3 separate regions of the Homo sapiens genome follow, and all the other regions are linked to region 1. The links are contacts of gene promoters, found by promoter capture Hi-C in blood cells and fetal thymus (Javierre and others, 2016). All regions are on one chromosome and are shown on one strand. The core of a region is centred on a gene start or on the middle of the fragment in contact, and the rest is flanking DNA. Distances in the headings are between cores, read along the strand shown. Region 1 holds the start of HBEGF (heparin binding EGF like growth factor). Region 2 overlaps CYSTM1 (cysteine rich transmembrane module containing 1). Region 3 holds the start of SRA1 (steroid receptor RNA activator 1).

The links. The method cuts DNA at HindIII sites, captures the fragments that hold promoters and counts their contacts. A CHiCAGO score of 5 or more calls a contact.
Region 2: a contact is called between a fragment that was not itself captured here and the fragment with the promoter of HBEGF in region 1, in 1 of 17 cell types (endothelial precursors). The highest score is 5.1, in endothelial precursors.
Region 3: the fragment with the promoter of SRA1 here is called in contact with the fragment with the promoter of HBEGF in region 1 in 1 of 17 cell types (activated CD4 T cells); the score reaches 6.1 in activated CD4 T cells.

The regions. Positions count from the first base shown.
Region 1 is chr5:140,343,595-140,348,113 of GRCh38, forward strand. It overlaps HBEGF (heparin binding EGF like growth factor), which reads right to left and starts at 3,009. Exons shown (of 6, transcript NM_001945.3): 1 at 2,689-3,009; 2 at 2,317-2,490. The coding sequence starts at 2,734. RefSeq lists silencers at 2,924-3,203, 3,244-3,293. The HindIII fragment of the contact is 6,957 bases long and covers 1-4,519 here.
Region 2 is chr5:140,213,331-140,217,477 of GRCh38, forward strand. The region is part of intron 2 of CYSTM1 (cysteine rich transmembrane module containing 1); the gene reads left to right. Among named protein-coding and RNA genes, the nearest start is that of CYSTM1, 40 kb to the left of the region's middle. The HindIII fragment of the contact is 3,349 bases long and covers 1-3,319 here.
Region 3 is chr5:140,555,460-140,560,115 of GRCh38, forward strand. It overlaps SRA1 (steroid receptor RNA activator 1), which reads right to left and starts at 2,014. Exons shown (of 5, transcript NM_001035235.4): 1 at 1,969-2,014; 2 at 1,688-1,813. The coding sequence starts at 1,993. It overlaps APBB3 (amyloid beta precursor protein binding family B member 3), which reads right to left. Exons shown (of 13, transcript NM_133173.3): 13 at 2,809-3,362. The coding sequence ends at 3,126. RefSeq lists a silencer at 574-723 and enhancers at 1,247-2,068, 1,934-2,293, 2,384-2,443. The HindIII fragment of the contact is 6,646 bases long and covers 1-3,418 here.

The sequences.
Region 1 (4,519 bases), core at 1,759-4,258:
AGAAGGAACTGGAACAATGATGACTCCCTCCTTCTTTCCATGCTTCAGAGAGACTGGGGGAAAAACAGCCTCACCCAGATATCCAGCTGGGATTGACCAGGGACTATGCCTATCAGCCCAATCCCACCCTTTTATCCCCCATCAGGAAAAAGGTGCCCACATCCATGGCTACAGCCATGTGTCTTACAGAAGGGTAAGCATGATACGTTAGACTAGAGACTTAGAGTCTCAAGCTAGAGGGACTTCAAAGAATACCATGTGGCCAGGCACGGTGGCTCACGCCTGTAATCCCAACACTTTGGGAGGCTGAGGCAGGTGGATCACCTGAGGTCGGGAGTTCGAGACCAGCCTTGCCAACATGGCAAAAATCTCATCTCTACAAAAAATACAAAAATTAGCCGGGCGTGGTGGTGTGTGCCTGTTATCGCAGCTACTCAGGAGGCTGAGGCAGGAGAATCACTTGAACCTGGGAGGCAGAGATTGCAGTGAGCTGAGATCGTGCCATTGCACTCCAGCCTGGGTGACAGAGTGAGACTATGTTTAAAAAAAAAAAAAAGAAAAAAAGAAAAAACTCATGGCAGGCAGAGTGACTTACTCAAGGTCATGCAGGATTGGGATTAGAACTGTGTTCTCTGGACTTCACTCCAATGTCCTTCCTCACCACACCAAGCTGCCTCACACACTCCCATCTCCTCCCTCTCACAAGTCTAGAGCACCTGAGATGCTGATCCAGGCATGAATGGGCTCTGAAGTCCATAGACCTGTGCTCCAATTTCAGCTATTTACTGTGGGCAGTCACTTAACTCCTCTGAACCTCAGGTTCTCAGTAAAATGTGGATAGCCAAAGTAACTATCTCAAAAGGTTGCTATAAGTGTTACATTAGCCAGGATAACATATCAAGTGCCTAGAACACAGTAGGAATTTAATAAATGGTAGCAGTCATTTATTTTAGGTGGTAGGATCCCCAGACCTGAAAAATAGTCCTTGCCCAGCAAAGCCAAAAGAAGGGAAGAGAAGTAGGTGCCAGCAGCCCCCACAGTCTTTCATTTCCTCTCATCCAGTCCCAGGCCCCCTCAGAGCTCAGAAGGTGATACAGGTGGTCAGAGGAACCCAGTGACCAGAGCTTCGGGGAGAGCAAGGCAGGGGGGCCAAGCCAATCAGAAAGGGGAGGGAGAAGGTGCAGGGTGACAGCCAGGCTCCTGCCATGGACAGGGAGCAGTGAGTCAGGTCTGCAGAGGTAAGAGGAGCAGCCGTGTGGGTGGGGGGTGGGGGTGGGGTGAGTCACAGCCCAGCCCTGCCCAGCCTAGGAGGAGAGGGCCAGGAGAATCCAGGCTGTTCAGGTCATGGGCAACCCCAGAGGGCCACTGGGAGAGGATGAAGTATGGGAGCCCAGGCTCAGTTTTGGAGTATGTGCTTGATTTATACAAAGTAGAGAGAGTATCCAAGGAAAGCTCCTGGGAATGAGGGAGAAGGGCAGCTGAGGAGCAGGTGGAACTAGAACAGGTGGGCATCTGTCCAACCAAATATAGTCATTCCAGGGTACAGTGCTGAGTCCTTGCTCTACTCTGGATAATCTCCTCAGGTTTGGAGGCAGGAGAGCTGGCAGGCTCTGGACTCTGCCCTGTACCTGTACTTGGCCACAGCCAAAGAGGCTGGTTGGAGGATCCTACACAGCCCTCCCCATTTGGAGTCTCCTCAGGAATGCAAGGTGCTCAGTAAGCTGCAGGTTTCCGGTAGCATTCACAGATATCCAGCATTTTAATACAGCCCCCTAGGGGCTCAGTGCTCACCATTCACAGCCTCATCTAGGGCGGCCAAGAGCTCCTCATTCCCCTCTGTTTCCCCAATCTGGAGACAGGTGGATGGAGGAGGCCAACACTGCACACTTTCTAGAGATGTGCCTGGGCATCTCCGCATGTGTTACCTCTATTTTATATATAATAGTCATTTGATATGGGAATTAGAACTGGCGCCCATTTTTACATAGTAGCTCTAGGGAAAGCATCTCAACCATTCCTTGTTCCTATCACCCAGCTTACCTAAGAAGAACGTAACAACCCCAGACAACACGTCTGATTCAATTTGCCCCGGAGTACCCAGAAGGGCAGCAACCCAGCAGGTGAGGCAATGACAAGAGAGAGAGAGTGGGACCTATATTCCAGGATCCCCCAGTGCCCATCAGGCCGATCAGCTTTTCCCCGAGGTTCTCCATGAATACCCTCAACCCACAGTATTGCCCAAACAGCAAGAATCTTGGATCTGCTTATTCTTCAACAGCCCACCAAGGTCCAAGGATGGGGGGCCTCCACACCCACCTCTCAAAAGGTCCAGATCTGCCTCTTGCAAGTCACGGACTTTCCGGTCCCGGCCGCCTCCTAGGGGTAGCAGCTGGTCCGTGGATACAGTGGGAGGGTCCGGGTTGCTGGTTCCAGCAGCTAGCCCTCTCCGAAGCCGCTCCAGGCTCTCGCCAGTCACCAGTGCCGAGAGAACTGCGGGCGAGAGGCCAGGCCGCATCAGACACCCGCCCAGACCCCTGACCAACACGCACCGATGCCGACGCCCGTCCGCCAGAGCGCAAGGGCCCCACCAAGTGGCCCGTGCCGGGTGCGCTGCGGCGACCTTCCCCCATGCCCCCAGCACAACGCCCCCATCCCCCCGATCTCCGGGGGCGTCGGCAGCCCTCTTACCTGCAGCCAGAAAGAGCTTCAGCACCACCGACGGCAGCAGCTTCATGGTCCCGCACCGAGAGGAGGCGGCGAGGCACCAGTCACTTTCGAAGCGGCGGCCACTGGGCGCTGGCACCAGAGCTGGGCGGCGGAGCTCAGGAGATTCCGCCGGGCACCGTCTGCCGCCCGCCTCTGCGTGCAAGCCTGGCCGGGACCCAGGCGCAGCTCGCTCTTCTTGAGTGTCTTGTCTTGCTCACTCAGCCCGCCCGCGCGGCCGCCCGACCCCGCGCGCCTAGGTCAGGCCAGCCAGCAGCGTGGCCCGCGTAGCTCCTTCGGCCGAATGAGCGCTGCCCGGCTCGCGGCCGGGAATAAGGCTCCAGGAGGCGCGGAAGCTCCGCCCCGCCCGGCGCCGCCCCCTCCCTCCTCCCGTGCTGGGAAGCTCGCCCGGCTCGCGGCGCCGGCAGCGCAGCCCCCGACCCCGCGGGCGCGGCGGAGGACTGGGCGGGAGGAGAGGGCGGCGTTCACAATTTTTGGGACCAGGCCGAGGCAGCCGCGGCCTGATTGTGGGTAGGGCTACTGACCGGCAGGTGGCGGAGAGCGGTTCCTACCTTTCCCCAAACGCCTGTCACTCTGCAGCCTTGTGACTGACTGCTGAGCTGAGTTCTGTTCCGGGCCTGGCCTCTTGCTTCATCTAAGCCCCATACCAGGGGTCTCCATCCCTGTCACCCTCTAAGTTTCAGAAGCCCACCTTTTGGCCTACCAACACGGCAAGTATCAAATAATAATTAATTCATCTATCATTTAAAAATTAGACACGTGAATGCCAGCCGTTCTCATAAACCCGAGATAACCAGAGTTGAAGTTGCAGGCACTTAGTATCAATCCAGCAAAAGCAAAGGAAGTTAGTACTCTCTTAGTCTCTGGAGTGGCTTCCTCCCATCTTCCCTCAGGGGACATTAGGATTTTTGAACTATGGGTTGTAATTCCCAGGCTTCTGAGATTGGAGAGACACAGGTTGTGAAACAAGCCTTATTCTTTTCCTTGCCTTTGACTGCCACCTTTTTCCTCAACATAAAAAATGAGCCACCCTCCCATAGGACCCAGCTGGCTAACCTAGATTGCTGTTTCACAGACACTAGGTGTTTCTCTTCCAACCCATGTGCTTTTGCAGGGGTCTTCTGGAGTCACTGTCCTGACCCAAAGAAATGAGTGTCTCAGTAGGTATTTCAGTTTCCAGGGACGTGCTGGGGAGAGAGTTGTTTGACACAGGGCTGGGTTGGCTTTCAGAGCCCTGAAATTGTGCCAGATAGAGCACTTGCCGGATTCTGCCTGTGTGTAGGGATAAAAACAGGCCTGCTATTTATACACAGTCTATCCCACTGTCCCTCCCTATCCCCACCTTTGCAGGGGTCAGTCTGGCCCTGCCCTCTTAACTTGCTCCAGTAACCTAGGCCTAGGTTTCCATAGTGCACTGGAATCACTACAGACCTGAGTTTGAATCCTGCCTTTGCTACTTACTGTGTGACCTTGGACAAGAAACTTAATTTCACTGAGCCTCAGTTTTGACGTCTCTCAAATGGAAAAAATAATAACAATAATAATAATGACTACTTTGTAGGGAGCTTTTTGAGAAATGAATGCGGGAACACATAAAAGTAGTTAGTATAGTGCCAGGCACACTATAAGCTCTCAATAAATGTGACCCATTATTATTGTTGCTGTTAATAATAATCACTAAGCACTTGACCACTCTATTTCCTTAGAGGCCTCTTTTCTCTCACTTCTCTAGATCGCTTGCCTTCCCCTAGGCCATATCTGAGGCTTTATGATATAGTTGGGCTGGTTTCAGACA
Region 2 (4,147 bases), core at 395-2,894, 130 kb before region 1:
CAGTTTTGTTTAGCTGTATAATATATTTATGTTTTAAGCAAAGTGTTGGTAAAGAGTCAAAAAGTTTAAAATTTTTTTCAAAGTTACAGTAAGCTAAGGTTAGTTATTGAAGAAAGAAATTTGTTTTATAAATTTAGTATAGCCTAAGTGTATGGCAGATAGTGTAAGTGTTCAGTATATATGAAGTCTGCAGTAGGGTATTGTAATGTCCTAGGCTTTCACATTCACTCACTTACTGACTCATCTAGAGCAACTTCCAGGCCTGTAGGCTCCATTCATGGTAAGTGCTCTATATATGTATACCAGTTTTTATCTTTTATACCACATTTTTACTGTACCTTTTCTATGTTTAGACACATAGATGCTTACCATTGTTTAAAATTGCCTACAGTATTCAATATAGCAACATGCTGTACGCATTTGTAGCCTAGGAGCAATAGGTGATAGTATATATCCTAGGTGTACAGTAGGCTATACCACCTAGGTTTGTGTAAGTACACTATGATGTTCACACAATGACAAAAATGCCTAACAATGCATTTCTCAGAACATATCTCCATCATTGAGAGATGCATGACTGTATTGTACTGTTTTGTATTTTGTCAGGGAATATCCTTAAAATACTTCAAACTTAACTATAGCACAATGTGTTAGCAGTGGTAAAGGAGGAGGAGTCTGCGGGTAAGATGGTTTTTCTCTGGTGGTACTCAATTGCAACTCTCTTCACAAAAGCAGATGAGAATGGTTTTTAGTGAGTGTACTGGGGACTCAGCACCATCTTAGGCTCTCATTCCTTCTGACTTAGGTCCTTAACTTGACAGACCTACTCAGTCAGGTCCAGCACTTCAATGATGGTCTCCCTAATGACTGCACCAGCAGTGGATCTGAGTGTCATGTGATGACAGTGTGGTCATGACACTAAGGGACTGTAGACTCAAAGATGCCCTTGGATTTTTCCATCTTCTTGGGGATAGAGACAATCTGTTTTGGTCAGGTACTTTATGTAGAACATTCTATTTTGCCTTTTTAAAAGCCTCGGTTTGCCTAGCACTCAGAGGTAATGGAGTGAGGAAAGACAACTGCTCTTTGCAGATCCAATTTATTCAGCTGGCTGATGGGATGTGATCTGTGCTTGAGGGCTGAGAGCAGGCTGGGTTGGCCAGACCTGGCTGGCCTGGGGAAACAAGGTATTTTGAAGTCTGCTGCTTCCAGACCAGATGGCCTTGCTTCATTGTTCTTAGGCCCCTTTCACCCAGGAGCAGCCTGGTTTTCTGCTTTGATACTACTTTTACCCAGTCTTAAAAAACATGACACACATATGCCTATTATCTCTTGCATAGCTTTCTTCAGTTAGCTTGTTATAAACAATGAGGACATTGGTTTTGTGGGCAAGGAAAAGAAGACTACTTTGGGTAGTAAGGGAAATTGGAAGGCACAGGTGGGATAGAGTAGGGCAGTCTTAGAAGGATTGGAGCTAACCAGGCATTGTCGGGACCTCCCTATGTCAGCTGCACTCTGCAGAGCAAGTCCAGTGCTGTAGGTCATTGGTGTGGGGACCATCCGAGGTGACACGGATCTTCCCCTAGGATATATTCTTCCCAGTAGTAATGAGCCATTCCTGTACAGAAAGGGCCCAGGCTCCAGGGCCTGTGCATAGGGTGGTATGTCTCTTACCACACCAGCTGCCTGTGTGGCACAGTGCCCGTAGGCACCTAGTGCAATCTTCCCAGTGGTCAGTGTGGTTAGCCACAGGGGAAACTTGAGAAGGAACGTCTTGAAAACTGACAGCTTTTTTTCATTCTCTAAAGATTCTCATAGATTTTCATGGAAGTCACTCTCAGGAGAACTGTCTATACTAGTAGAATTTGGTGCCTTTTAAAAAATCAATTATATTCTGCTTATATTGTGGCTCCTTGGAGCCACAGAGTTGAGATGCTCTAAAAATCAGGACATGACATAGAATTATTATAATTAAAATGCTGAAAATGAAGATAGCAAGGATTGGTATCTTTATCACTGGATGAGAACTTAGCACAGCAGACAGTAACACAAGTGTGAGGACCAAGTCCAGAGCGATCAGTGGTCCAGAAGAGCTGGTTTCTTCCAAACCCCTACTTAGTTCAGCCCTGATAATAGGCTGCAGTTCCTGTTCCTGGGTTATACCCTGGCTCTCACACAGAGAAACCTGGCCACTTTTTAGAAAATCACTTTTTAAATTACAGAAATACTTTTCCTTTGACAAAGTAAATAATATGCATAATTTATTTGCATATTATTTACTTTGCATTATTAATGCATAACTGCTGCCCAGAGATAGCAGTTAACATTTTGGTATAAATGTTGTGATATAGCCCTTTTTGAAATTCATCTTGTGTGTTAGTCTCTGTCCAGAGGATGTATTTGCAGCTAATATAATGCTACATAAAAGTGTTGTTAGTATGTTGGTGTAGGGTGGGAAATAAAAAAAATAGTGTTGTTGAGTGTGTTGTTTTGTGTGTGTATATTTTTAACTTTAAAAAGTCTGTATAGGCGGGGCACAATGACTCACACCTGTAATCCCAACACTTTGGGAGGTCAAGGTGGGTGGATCACTTGAGCCCAGGAGTTTGAGACTAGCCTGGGCAATGTAGGAAAACCCTGTCCCTACAAAAAATACAAAAAATTATCTGGGCATGGTGGCACGTGCCTGTAGTCCCAGATATTTGGGAGACTGAGGCCAGAGAATCACTTGAGCCCAGGAGGTCAAGGCTGCAGTGAGCTGAGATCACTCCACTGCACTCCAGCTTGGGTAACAAAATGAGACCCTGTCTCAAAAAAAAAAAGTTTGTGTAACTTTATATAGTCTGTATATCCTCAGCTGTATCTCAGTCTCTTAGAATATGCAAGTCTTAAGGAGTGATTATCAGCTTTCACCGATGTCTCCATTTCAAATGTTAGTATCACACAGTTGATGTCATGCTGGGTTTTTTACCCACAGAGAGGTTAAGGGACTTAAATTTTACATAAATTGATTAAGCCAGGTATGTTACGCATACTCTCTGAATCCAGTGAACCTGTATCTGTAAGAGCTAGACCTTTGGGGATACAGAGCTGAAGAGGACCCAGCTTCTCCCCTGTGAGCTGAACTGGCAGTTTGGCAGGGGATGGGGGTCCGTGGAGACAGACCCATTGAGCAGATCATCGCAGTGTTTGAGTAACCTGCCCTGGTTTTCTGCTGTTCCAGGCTTACCCTGGCTCTCTGAGGGAGTGGGTTCCTTCTCCAGGAAATATTTACTTTCCTATCAACTCCCTTGGAAAATCTTATCAGCTTGTACCAGGAAGCTTGCTGCCTGTATGCTATCAGGGCTGCAATGCTTTTGGTCTCGAGAGGCTAATACTGCTCCCTTCCTTTTCTCTCCCTGCTGGGCTCAGTGGCCTTTTCCTCATTTGATCAAGGGTGCCTTGTGTAGCCAGGCTGGGATCCTGATTGGAAAAGGTAGCATACTCCTAAGGTTGCCCTGACCCATCCTCAGGGCTTTCTGAAGTAAGGGGAGGAAGTAGAGCCCTCTCCCTCTATGACACACACACACACACAAAGAGCATACGCATTCTCGTTCTGGGGGTTGTACCTGAGCTTTCTCTTGAGGTTCTAGTCATCAGGCCCTTTCTCCAGGAACACACTTGCTTAAAGACTATAACTTGGGAACAGCTTAGAAAAGATTTTGATGATTTTCAATTGCATTTTCCTTAGGGAAAAAAAAATCTCCATTAGGCTTTTTTCTTTCTTTTTTAAGTAGCGCCTTGGTTTCCTCTGAGCTTTTCCATTTACCCTTGAAATGAGTCCATTTGCTAGCCTGGGATACCTTTTCAGCCTGGAGAATTTTAGAGACAGAGACAGCGCAAGATTATATTGTGAGTTCTTAATGGGTAAAAGTGACTTTTTGCTTTTGGAGAGAATGTATATCATGGGTAATTTGTTTGTGAAGGATTAATATTTCTCTCTCCTCCTCCTGAGCCTCCAAAAAAGCCCTTTCCAAGTACCTCAGGCAGCTAGTGGGTAACCATGAACTCCCCAGGGCTGTGGGCAAGATGTCCTGGGGCTGCAGATTTGAAGCCTCTGTGAAAAAGGTGTATCCTGTGGCTACTAGGCCCACTCTCCCTGGCCTAG
Region 3 (4,656 bases), core at 764-3,263, 210 kb after region 1:
TGATCTCAGGTGATCTGCCCACCTTGGCCTCCCCATGTGCTGGGATTACAGCCGTGACTCACTGCGCCTGGCCTCTCCTTTTTTCTTCTTTGGCCATTTCCCAATCTCCTTTGCTGATTCCTTCTCAACCTTGAAATGCTAGAGTGCCCTACGGCTCTGTCCCTGGCCATATTCAAGCCCATGACATCAAATACCATCCTTGTAATGGTGACTTATTTCTCTAATTCTGGCCTAGAACATTCCCCAAAAGTAACAGCCTAAACTTCACATGGCCCCCCAAAAAAACTCCCCCTCCCCAAAACCACCATCCCCAGTCTTCCTATATCAAGCAAAAAAATTCAGTTATATGGATTCTTCCTAATCTACTCATTCCTACTGACCTTCTCCATCTCATATCCATCCAACTCCTACCACCCTGACTCCCACCCTTATGCAAATCATTAAATCTTGCCTATATTACCATAATAGCTGTAATTTGTCTTTCCACTTCCCTAAAATCTTGTTTTCACACAGCAGACACAGTGATCTTTCCAAAATGTAAATCAGTCCCTGGTTCTCAAGCTAGGAAGATAGTGCCCACAGGGCAAATGTCTGGAAACACTTTTGGCTATCACAACTGGGTGGATGCTACTGACATCTTTTGGGTAGAAGTCAGAGTTGCTGATTAACATAAGACACAGGAAAGTCCCTCACAAAGAATTATCTGGCCACAACCTATCAATACTGCTGAGTTTAAGAAACCAAGCCTTGTATCATTCTTCTACAGCAAAAAGGGTGTGGAGAATGGAGGGCCACTGAAAGAACCAAACCTGAGCCCCTTTATGGGGGCCACGGCACAGCCCATTTAATGGCTTGGAAAATTCTCGGGGGGAAAGGTGGCTCTCCTCTACTTTAAACTTTTCAATGGCTTCTAACTTTATGTAGATTAAAATACAAATTCCTCATCCTGCTTTACAAAGCCCACTATGCTGTAGCCAGCCACTCTGTATTTCATCAGTCTCTGAATTGGCCAAACTTATTCCTTTTGCAGCTGTTTCTTTTGCTTGGAATGCTTTTGTACATGATCTTTGTGTGGCTTAAATGTCAGCCCCTCAGACACCTCGTTACCCAGTCATATTACATCACCGCTTATTTTCTGTAGCACCCTCACCACTATTTCATCTTTCAGCCCATCTCCAGTGCTGCAACGTGGACTTCCTGAAAGCAGAGATCTTTTTTTTTTTTTTCTCACTGCTGTCTAGTTCGCCCTCAAACAGTGCCTGACTTATAGAAGTGCTCAGTAAATAACAGTGATTAAATGAATGAAAAACTGTGAAGTCTGACGATTATCATATACCTAAGTGAAGACAGAATGGACAAATGAATATGCCACTATACGGTTCTGGCAAGAGGTATAGGTTAACAAAGAAAAATAACTTCAGGATTAAAACTATATTAAAAGCCACAGGTCTGGATAAGATCATCTAGGATGAAAAAATAGTCTTTTTAAATCAATACACCATTTATTAACCTGAGCAGCAGAGAAGGGGCTCGGAAAAGCACCTGCTCTGAGACCCTTACTGGAGCCCCAAAACTTCTCTCCTTAAGGAGCCCTCGGGGAGAGAAAAAAGCCTTCCAAACAGGCTTATGCCTTACACCCCCCCCCCCCCATTCTCCGTCTGTCTCCGAGCACAGGGGCCCCACGCACCTCTGGGGGATCCATCCTGGGGTGCGGCGACCCTCTTGGTAAGCAGCGAGCGCCTGGGTCCGCCGGCCTGGGTCTGCAGCCCGTATGAGAACTGCGGCGGGTCGTTCCAGCCGCGTTCCTTGTTGCCTGCGGAGGCGAGGGATGTGTGAAGCGAGCCCGGAACTCCACTGTTAGCTTATACTGGGGCTGGGGGAGACAGAGGGTCCATACTAAGCGCCGCAACCGCCCCCAGCCTAGGCCGGGGCGACAACCTAGTGCCCTAGCCCGCCGGCTGCGCTCACCCGGCTTCACGTACAGCTCCGCCATCTCCACTTCCGCTTGGCCAGCGGGGCAGCGCGTCATTTCCGGGGCGGCCCCTCACGCGGGCCAGTTGAGACACGTCCAGGGCCAGGCGGGTTGCCGGAATCCGTGGAGGATGGATGCTGGTTCACAACCGTCGGGAGCCGCTGTGGGGACCCTGCGGCAACTCCCTAAGACTCGAAGGCTCCATCTAATGAACCATCAGGGCCCTGGTCACAAGGCACCAAAGGAGGTTGCTGTCCAGGAGCCAGTGCTCTAGGAGGCCTCATCCTCTCAGGAGCAAATTCAAACAAAGAAGCTCCTGCCCCACATACACCCCGCTGTGATCTAGCCAGGTTGACTTCTACAGCCTCCTCTTGCATTGCCCTGCACAATCTCCACATTCACGTCCGGTAGCCTCACTAGTACTCATCTTCCTTCAGTTCTCAGTTCAGATGTCAGTTCTTCAGGAGGCCTTCTGGAATGTCTCAGGCCAGGTTAAGTGTCTCACTTGAGCTCCCACGACCCTACAACCCTCTGAGATTTCGTAGGTGTATTACATCACATCTTCTGCCTTATTTGACTCTTGTTCGTTTCCCTGTCGGACAGTCTTAGAAGGTGGGACCTTGACTATTTTATTACATTCCCAGTGCCCAGCTTAGTGCCTGGCACAGGGAACTCCTTAGAAAATATGTTTGTTGAATGAAGTCAGATCTCCATCACACCCATGCTGTCATGTGACTACAGAGAGCCACCAACATCAAGCACAGACACAAAGACACTCATCTCACACAGGGTGTTAGCCCCCAGCCCTGTCCCAGGCCCAATATACTCACATCCAGTGAGGTCACTGAGGGATTTTTATTTGCACTGATTTTGCTATAAAGTGTTACTGAGGTAGAGCCAACTGTCCAGGGTTGGACAGGGGCAAGGAACACAAGGACCCAAGGAAAGGGGAGCCAGGGTCCTACGTTGTGGTGCAGTGCCTCCCAGTCATCCGTATAAACAATAAATTGGGCAATAAATAGACGGTGGACAAGGATCGGAGGGACAGGCAGAGAAGGCTTCAAGGAGTGACAGGCTATAGGCCTTGAGGAATAAAACGGTACAGAGTTAGGCATGGACCCAGAGCCTACTTCCCCAGCCTTCCCAGATAAGTTTAGGGCATATGGAGCAGAGAGGGTTTCAGCCGGAAGGCATCAAGAAAAGAGAAGACACCCCGCTTTCGAGGGGTTGCCCCTGCACCGCCAACCCCTCCTTTGAGCAGGGGGAGGGGCAGGGGACCTCCTGGGGAATCCATGGAGCTGGTCCGCTTGAGCCGCAGGCGGGCACGGGCCTGGGCACCCCAGGCCTTGCCTCGAGCTGCAGAGGCCACAAGACACTTCTGGTACTGAACCTAGGGAGAAGGGGAATGTGAGGATCCAGCTACTTTCTGCCTCTAGACTCCCTGAAAGCTTCTGCAGGACAGGGAACTGGCCAAAGCTTCTGTCTGATAACAAGGTTGGTAGTCAGCCACATGTGGAGTTTCTAGAGCATTCCCAGGTAGCTCAATAACAAAATCATAAAACATGTATCAGACACTTAAGGAGGGCAGGCTGGACACTGCTAAGTGCTTTGTATAATTCAGTTATTTATGAGGGGTTATTATCCCTGTTTTGCAAAAGAGGAAATTGAGATTCAGAGAGTATATGACTTGCCCAAGGTCACACAGCCAGAGAAAGGCAGAAATGGCATTCAAACCTAGTTCTCTCTGATTGCAGAGCCTAAACTCTTAATTACATGTACCACTATGTTGCCTCTTTTCCATCTCTCACTGGTGGGGACTAGTCCCTGGCAAAGCAGATTCCCTAGTCAAGGGTAAAGGTGTACAACTCAAACTCCAGCCCCAATGCAACTGCTCCCAGTCATCTCATCTGAACAGCTCAAAGGTGTCCTAATTGGCCTTCCTACCTCCTATTACGTCCTCCAAATCTTTTACCCATACTATAGCTTAAGTGGTCATCCTAATCCATAACCCTGACTTCACTCTCGGGCTCCAGTGCTTCCTAGTGCCTCCAGATAAACTCATCACCCTGACCTATGAGGTCCCCCAAACCTGGCTTCTGTCATTCTCTCTGATCTCACCTCTCACTACGTCCCCCTTGCATGCCAGATACACTAGATTCTTTCAGATACTCTCATCCACTAATATCTCTCACCTTCACAGCTAAGGTTCCCTGTGCTTGGTACACCTGCCCCACTCCCCTTCACCTGGCTAACTTCCCTCTTGGACTGTCGGATTTCTATCACCTCTTACAGGTAGCCTTCCTGACCCCTAAAGGGGCCACCTCTTCCATCAACCAGTGGTGTACAACTTATTTCTGGTCTATCTTGGCTCTATCCTAAGTGTTTTGTGAAGGCAAGGGCTGTGCCCTCTACAGCACTAAATTCTCAGGGTCAGCTATGGTGTCTGGGACCCTGTAGGCACCCATATTTGTTGAATGAATGGGCAAACTGAACTAACGAAGTATAAGCAACCCACACTCAAATGCCCACAGATGCCAGGAAATAAACCTAAATGAGACAAACAGGAACAATGCCAACTCTTTAGGGCACAGCTTCTGCACAACTCTGGCTGCATGCTGACACTTACACGTGTGAACTGAGTGCCAGAGCTCTTGATATTTTAAGAAAAACAAGAATAGCGATTA